Linked DNA regions of Homo sapiens: all the other regions are linked to region 1. Evidence: promoter capture Hi-C in 16 types of primary human blood cells and fetal thymus (Javierre and others, 2016). All regions are on one chromosome and are shown on one strand. Each heading gives the region's core, a stretch centred on a gene start or on the middle of the fragment in contact. The rest is flanking DNA. Distances are from core to core; before and after follow the strand shown. Region 1 holds the start of GNRHR (gonadotropin releasing hormone receptor). Region 2 has its middle 55 kb from the start of TMPRSS11B. Region 3 overlaps CENPC (centromere protein C).

Evidence for each region. Contacts are between HindIII fragments. The CHiCAGO score rates a contact against its expected background, and 5 or more counts as called.
Region 2: a contact is called between a fragment that was not itself captured here and the fragment with the promoter of GNRHR in region 1, in 1 of 17 cell types (neutrophils). The highest score is 5.2, in neutrophils.
Region 3: a contact is called between a fragment that was not itself captured here and the fragment with the promoter of GNRHR in region 1, in 4 of 17 cell types (fetal thymus, naive B cells, total B cells and 1 more). The highest score is 6.2, in fetal thymus.

The regions. Positions count from the first base shown.
Region 1 is chr4:67,752,920-67,755,722 of GRCh38, reverse strand. It overlaps GNRHR (gonadotropin releasing hormone receptor), which reads left to right and starts at 1,335. Exons shown (of 3, transcript NM_000406.3): 1 at 1,335-1,909. The coding sequence starts at 1,388. The HindIII fragment of the contact is 5,914 bases long and covers 1-1,752 here.
Region 2 is chr4:68,189,447-68,192,249 of GRCh38, reverse strand. It overlaps the pseudogene FTLP10 and the pseudogene TMPRSS11BNL. Among named protein-coding and RNA genes, the nearest start is that of TMPRSS11B, 55 kb to the left of the region's middle. The HindIII fragment of the contact is 1,386 bases long and covers 683-2,068 here.
Region 3 is chr4:67,492,978-67,495,780 of GRCh38, reverse strand. CENPC (centromere protein C) reads left to right here. Exons shown (of 19, transcript NM_001812.4): 13 at 569-622; 14 at 1,793-1,897; 15 at 2,784-2,803. Among named protein-coding and RNA genes, the nearest start is that of CENPC, 51 kb to the left of the region's middle. The HindIII fragment of the contact is 493 bases long and covers 1,214-1,706 here.

The sequences.
Region 1 (2,803 bases), core at 86-2,585:
AGCTGGTAATTCTGGACATATAGTGACAGTCAAAAAGGAGCTCAGGTACAGGACTGGTCTAAGCTGCTCAAGATTCAGGAGACAGCCAGTACACAGAGAAGCTGAGGAGATACATAAGATATATCTAAAACATTTATCTAACCTTCTGTGGTAACAAGCTCCTTAAAGGGGCTGGATGATGTTGTGTTCACTTTTTATCACCAGCAAAGGCTAAGATAATGTATATAGTAAATATTTAGTAACTATTTATTAAATAAATAAATATTTAAGACAGAATAAACAAGTATAATAAATGAACCAATAAGAATGCACCATCTAAGTCAAAATAGCCACTTTTATCCTTAACATTGTACCTGCTTTGGCTGCTGCAGAAGCAAACTTGTTGGCATTAGACAAATCAAGCTGGTGATTTAATAAATTCCAATGTAAGTCTTACCAGTATTGATGAATAACTATCCAGCACTCACCATGAAAGTTAAAGAAACAACACAGAAAAAGTTCCTAAGTGGTCCCAATTTGAAATGATCAGATAACCTATAAAAGAACATATTCATATTATACTAACATAAACACATATAAATGCACTTACAGCAGTTACACAGTATTCTCTTCAATAACTAGTTTCCTTATGCATTAATGTGTAATAACAGCAACTACAATATTTAGATAATTATAAAAACCAAGGCAATAATTTAAAAACTGATTAACCGTTTTACTCTAACTTAAGCATGGATTGGATCAGTAAGATTGATTAATAAATTTGAATGCAGTCAGTTGGATTGATTCTAATTTAAAGTTTTAATTTGTTGTAGAATAATTTTAAGTGAATATATTTGTCCAGTGTTCGAGTGCTCAACAGTGTGTTTGAAAAGGAAAACAAAGAAATGTTTTTGAGAAATGTGTTAATTCCTTAAGACAATGGATTTTAATTGGATCTAGTTGTTTTCATTTTTCTTCATTATCATTATACATCTGTATGTTGGACAGAACACTAACACTAAATAGTTTTTAGAAAAATTTTTTAAAGTTATTTAAATCATAATATCATGACTGACTTTTAAATTCAAAATTAGGCTGTGACTATCCTTCTTCACTTAGGAAGAGTGTTGTGAAAGCCAGACCATCTGCTGAGGTGCTACAGTTACATGTGGCCCTCAGAATGCATTTGGCCTGCTCTGTTTTAGCACTCTGTTGGATTACCAATACACAAAACAAGTTAACCTTGATCTTTCACATTAAGTATCTCAGGGACAAAATTTGACATACGTCTAAACCTGTGACGTTTCCATCTAAAGAAGGCAGAAATAAAACAGGACTTTAGATTCGGTTACAATAAAATATCAGATGCACCAGAGACACAAGGCTTGAAGCTCTGTCCTGGGAAAATATGGCAAACAGTGCCTCTCCTGAACAGAATCAAAATCACTGTTCAGCCATCAACAACAGCATCCCACTGATGCAGGGCAACCTCCCCACTCTGACCTTGTCTGGAAAGATCCGAGTGACGGTTACTTTCTTCCTTTTTCTGCTCTCTGCGACCTTTAATGCTTCTTTCTTGTTGAAACTTCAGAAGTGGACACAGAAGAAAGAGAAAGGGAAAAAGCTCTCAAGAATGAAGCTGCTCTTAAAACATCTGACCTTAGCCAACCTGTTGGAGACTCTGATTGTCATGCCACTGGATGGGATGTGGAACATTACAGTCCAATGGTATGCTGGAGAGTTACTCTGCAAAGTTCTCAGTTATCTAAAGCTTTTCTCCATGTATGCCCCAGCCTTCATGATGGTGGTGATCAGCCTGGACCGCTCCCTGGCTATCACGAGGCCCCTAGCTTTGAAAAGCAACAGCAAAGTCGGACAGTCCATGGTTGGCCTGGCCTGGATCCTCAGTAGTGTCTTTGCAGGACCACAGGTAAGCCATTATACACAAACTTATTTGGATATGGTGATCATAGATTTCCTATCTAAATTTGATATAAGGTCTTATCAAAGGAAGTACTGTATTACCTTTAAGAGCTTGGGTTCTGGAAGTCAGAGAGTGAAGTTTAATTCTGGCTCTGTTCTGTTACCTTGGGCAAACTTCTTAACCTCTCTGGTTTCAGTTCCTTTACCGATAAAATGTAACATGGGGGTTAATGCTTACTTAATACTGCTTTTGTGATGAATAAATAAATAAAGTAGCTCACATAATCTCTATTATGTAGCAAATGCTTCCCCAAAAAAAATGCGATTCTCAAACTTGACCTTATCTCCATCCTATTCTTTTATCTGTTTTTCTTTTTGTTTTGGTTGACATGGCTTTAATGTTTAGTTGAGATAATTTTTAGGAATTATGAAATTTGCCTAGGTAGAAAATATTTATAATGTTTCTTATTTAGGGTTTCTTCAGTGGAAATTTTAAGAATTCTGTCACTGCAGCTTAGAGAGAATTATTCTTTGTTAGTATGTTGCTCTGCAGTTTGCAGCTAAGTGGGACTGAATATAGAAGAAAAGTAAGACATCTTGGATGTTTGGAAATCCAAATATTTCCCTAAAGTTAGCTTGAGTTTTGCTGGAGGCAGCTTATTGAGAAAGCCATATGACTGACAGAGTAGGCACAGGCCCTCCCCACAGAGGGCAATTATCTTTCCAGGTTGCCTTCACCAGAAGCAGCCTAGTTAACTGACCTGCTGAACCTGCCATTTTAACAATCAGATCCCCGAAGAAAAGGACAAATTCTTGAAAATAACAAAGAATGTTAATAGCAGATGAACAAGTTTTCTCTTGCATTTAAATGTACTACATGATAAACCCAGGATACAAGGAT
Region 2 (2,803 bases), core at 126-2,625, 440 kb before region 1:
TGGCACTCATGCAGTATGTAGCATATTGCTAAATGTTGAATATGCATCACATTGGAGATAACACATGTCATATGTCAAGCAGCTTAATATCTATGAAATTTTAGGAAGGAAATATAATAGCTTAAGTATAGGCTTTGGAGTCAGACAAATTGAGTTTTGATACTTGGCTCTTCTTAGTGGCTGTATAATTTTGGGTAAATTACTTAGTCTCTCTGAGACTACACTTCTGAACGATTAATACATTTCATAAAGTTTTTCTAAAGTATCTTCACATAGTAGATACTTACATGGTAACTATTTTTATTCATAATCTGACAGTTGATTACTATAGATGGAAATCTCTTTATAGTATATATTCCTGTCTCAACCAACATTTTACTCTGTCTGAACTTTATATCTTCATCTACTATCTCAAACATTCTCTTATCTCTGTCTATTTATGATTGATATATATATCTCAAAGTTCAGACAAAGTAACATATTGGTTGAAACAGGAATATAGATATATATAATATATATTTATATCACATAATATAAATATATATCTATCTCATACTTGGTCCTGTAAACACAATGCCTAGATGATCTAGTCAACTGTACCCAAAGAGTGTATCAATATCTAATATGAGCACAATACATACTAGTTGTTATTGCTGTGTAATCTATATCTGGATTTGAAGCTTATTTAATTTAAATAATTCTTGGATCATTTCTTGATCTCACAGCAAACAGGATCTACTTCTACCAAGGTAGCTTTAAAATGCTGGATATCCCATATAATAGCAATTATGAAAGGGAGACATCACCAGAAAATAACTATCTTAGCCAAATTCTTGAGACTAGGTAAGTTAGTATTTTCCTATATTTCATTGTTAATTCTCTGAAATATAAGTACTGGAATTTGATATTTGACTCTATTTTCTCTGTTAACAGATGGTTGATGCATTTCAAAGTTCTAGCATTTACAGACAATATATCTTTTCTCAAGTCATCACACTGGTGTAAGTAACCAACATTAACCATCAAAAAAGAGATCAACTGATCATACATACCAGGACACTTCAAATTTCTCTGTGAAAAGAATCTATTGATATGTTATAGTCCTTAGCCAATAAGCTATGAATATCAAGCATTATCATAAATGTCAGACTAATTTTTCAATATGAAACCTAAGATTGGGGCCATATAGTTGAGTTCACTAGATGTATTGAGGATACATTAATCCTCAAATTATAAATGTGTCATCCTTTTGGTTTCCTAAATATTTATGTTCAGAAAACATTAGATAGTCCCATAGACCAATGTTTGATGCTCTAAAATTTTTATTTAGCAGTAGCATAAATATAGATCCTGTTTTCTCCTGTCTTTTGACTTGCAAGTCAGCTAAACACTTTGTGGAAATACCCCTAGAATTCTTAGTAGATACAGGTTAGGAGACAGCATATTTACACTAGACTTTGAGATCAAGAAAACCTTCTAGTCACCATAATAAGAAGTAAAATAGCTATGCTGTGTTCCCTACATGTGGGTTTGGAGTGGCATGAACTAGCCGAGGTAACCATAGAATAGATTTAGACAACCTGAGCCTAGCCTTTGCCATTTAATAGCCCTAGAGTCTTTGGCAAGTTACTGTATCGCTTTGAATCTGTTCCACTATCTCATTACATGTTAGTAGTAATACTTGCTTTGCCTCACTCACAGAACAGTACTAAGGATAAAAAAGAAAAGAAAATATGTGTGGAAACACTCACAAATAAACACATTTCAGATGAAGGCAATTATTGCTTTTATTTCCATCAGTGTCGCAGGACTATGTCTGCTCTTCTTCCCTGCTCATGGGACTCCTGGAATTGTAGAACAGATTAAGCTCTCAACTAGCATTAACATTGGAGGTCAATTTTGGTATTGAACATAAATGTGAGATTAAAGTTGAAGGGCCCAGATATCTCTCAGAGATGACTGCAACCACGGGAGATGTCTCTGTTTTGTTTTCCCATGCATGTAAATTCAAGTATCTATAAACAGCATGGGCCAAAAGGCAGTCATGAAGAGGTCACAGGACAAAGCTTTTCACTTTAGCATACACTGCTATAATAATCAAACTTATGTGACCTGAGTGCTTCCCAGGAATTATTATTGATTTATGTGCCAAAATATTGAACATCCCTGAGGAAGCCTCAAAGCATAATAATGTTACTTCAGACACAAGCTTCAGGACTCCTTAACAATTCCTGCGTGTCTAATTGGCTAGCTCCTCAGGCTGACTGCCCTTTTCCTGTTTCCAGACAAATCTTCCCTAAAACTCATGGTCAGATTAATTTTCCTCAAATACAGTTTACCTCAACAACTTTCCATCACTGCTACCCCTCAGCTAGCATTAAAGATCCTCTTCTGGTTGAGCCCAATCTCCTAGACACTGCCATTACTGTATGACTAGGCACAGAGTGACAGTGTACAGCATACAGACAGCTCTGTAAAGAGCCCAGGTTATGCAGTCAACTGCACTAAATCTAAATCCTAGTGTAGTGTGTACTTACTCTTGAATACATTATATAACTTCCCAGAGCCTCAATTTTTCCTTGTCTATAAAATGAAGATAACACCTATGCTGCAGGATTGTTGTGGAGACTGTGCTAATAAATGTGATAGCAAAGTACATTGGCTACGTAATACAAAGTACATTGGAATATAGCAGATGCCCAATCCATGCTAATTAATATTATTGCCATCAATTATTCTGAAGAAATATTCCTTCTCATCTCTGCTTTATGCAATTTTCTGCTTGATAATGAAGCAGAAACAA
Region 3 (2,803 bases), core at 211-2,710, 260 kb after region 1:
GAAAGTTACAGATAGTTCATAAATAGCATATTAATTATCCATTATCAGGCCCTACATTTTTATCCACAAGTGGCTTATTTCATCTTTCCATGAGCAATAGAAAATCTGTTGTTTTTTTTGTTTGTTTGTTTGTTTTAACTGTTACACTGTTTAGAATAAAAACCAGGGGTGTCCAAGGGAGCGAATACAGTCATGAGTTCTTAGTTTCTGTTTCTGGTTGGTCCAATAAAACCCCTTCCTCATCCCTCTTTTCCACTTGTCGCCAGAGACAGAAACTAAAAAGCATGGTTTCAGGCTGCTAAAGGTCTAAAACAAAACAAAACAGAACAACCACAAAATAAGGTGGATTGGACAAACTTGCAATGTATTCATTGTAGCAAAGTCTAGAGAAATAGTTCTTTTCCTTAGTTTTTATAGTTGAGCAATGAAAAGCAAAAGGAGTAATAAAATACATTATCAGGTCAAACTTTATTTAAAATACTCATACTGAAATTGACCAGGAAACACATTTTAATTTAACATGGAATTAGCAGTCATTTCTTATGATATTATCTTTTGCATTTTGTAGATGACTCAAAACAATCTAAAGTGATACCAAAGAACAGAATCCATCACAAACTAGGTAAGAATATTTTTCTTTTTTAATATTTTCATTGAGAAAAATACCTTAAGTTTCTGTTTCTAAATATAACTTATTTCTTCTTAAGCAGGAGAAATACGATTATGTGGATTAATTGGCAGATAAATTAAAATTATGCACTTAGTTTTTATGAATTTCATAGTAAGTCACCACAAGCCACTTGAATTAGTCTATTGTCCATTTATAAATCCTATTGCCCTCTCACTTTTTGCCCCATAGTAGGGGGCATGATCCTCCCTTAGCTATGAAGCTAGGGTGGAGAATTTTGTCAAAGAAACTGTAACTACCAGGTAGATGGCTTCCTTGACAGCATCTCCTTCCACTTTAATCCAGTTGACTCCTAAACAAAGCAGTAGCTAGGATAGTAAGTAGACAAAGCTAAGAACTGTGGAACCCATGGAGAGGCCCATGTAAAGATTAACAATCCATGGTTCCCAAAGAGATATTTGCCAGTCAAGATACATGATAGTTCCCACCTTTCTGTGATGTTGGGTGGCTTTCCATGTTTCTCCCTTTATTTGAGGCTGTGAGTGCTCTTTCACTCATACTCAGATTACCAATAGGAGTGAAGCTTTCTCTCATTGCCTTACTCCAGAACTTAGATATTGTCAGTATTTTGTGGGCCTATGTGATGAGAGACTGCTATACCTCTCAATACTTAATGCTTGTCTTGGGGTGAAATGATGAATCAGGAGTAGGGAAAGGGAAATAAAAATGTTCCTGAGCAGGGCTTCAGTATTTACAGAGGGGAACATTGAGCATTATGCCTAAGAGCAGTAGGCAACTTCTCGTTAGCTTCAGCATAGCTTTAGCAAACAAAAAATAGGTAAGAACATGGGAATTTGAAGATAAGCCAACAAACTCAATTTAGTATACAGAACTTTGCATTGTTCAGATAAGATGAGTGTACATTTAACATTGTCAACGCTGAGTATTATTAGGTTTTTAAATATTTGCCAATTTGGTAGCCTGTTTTTCCATTGGCTTTTCTTTAATTGTTAGCATAAATATTTGTTTTTTCTAGTCTTTTGTCTAGAAAAATATTCATGTTCTAAAAAATAAAGCTTTCATGTTCTAAAAGACAGTCTTTCCACTGCTAAGTACCATCAACTAAAAACTATGTATACACTTTTGTCTGACATCTTTTTATAGTATTGCCCTCCAACACACCAAATGTTCGCAGGACCAAGAGAACACGTTTGAAACCTTTGGAGTACTGGCGAGGAGAGCGAATAGATTATCAAGGAAGGCCATCAGGTAAAACTTATTTATGTTATAATATCTGTCAATAAAAAATTTGTTTACTATGTGCCAGACACTGCACTACATGTTTATATACATTACCTTACTTAATCATCACCCCCCCAAATTTTGATAATAGGATTTAAATTCATTTTTGTCTGATTAATGTAGAGATGCTGATATTTTCTCTTTGGTAGCTGAATGTTGTTATTCCTGTATCATCTGACAAGATTTCCAATTGCATAATATAAAGCGTTAGATTAGAACGTGAGAAAATTGTAACTGGTAAAGGTAAAGTAGTTTTCATTATTTTTCCTATTAACCATTTTCCATTTTCTCATAGTTTTCTACAAAGTAGTGTAGGGTGGGCAAGAAAGTGTAGTGTTAATCGTAGAGTTATTTTCTTTCTTATTTTTGTAGAGATGAGGCCTTGCTATGTTGTCCAGGCTGGTCTCATCTTATGGGCTCAAGCAGTCCTCCCGCTTTGGCATCTCAAAGTGCTGAGATTACAGGTGTGAGCCACTGTGCCTGGCCATATTTCTTTCTTTGATGGATATATCTAAGTCAAAGGACTAAACTCATGTGGATTTCTATAAATAGTTCATTGCTAGCCCCCTCCTTTTTTTTTTTTTTTTAAAAGCCTCCACTGATGACTGTTGATTTCAGGGGAGCAATAGGACCATCTAATCATGTTTCATCATCTAATCCTGTTTTATCAGCCTCTGATTTAGGGTGGTAGAGATATAATGAAATTGGTTGGTATTTGTGTTATTTTAACTATTAGCTGCAGACATATATTCTTTGGTACTTTGAAAGGAAATGTGCCATATTAAATTTAAGGAGTTTTGTTTCAAGATTTTGTCTTTCCCATGTATATTTTACTTTTTTTGTTAAATTTCAGGAGGATTCGTGATTAGTGGA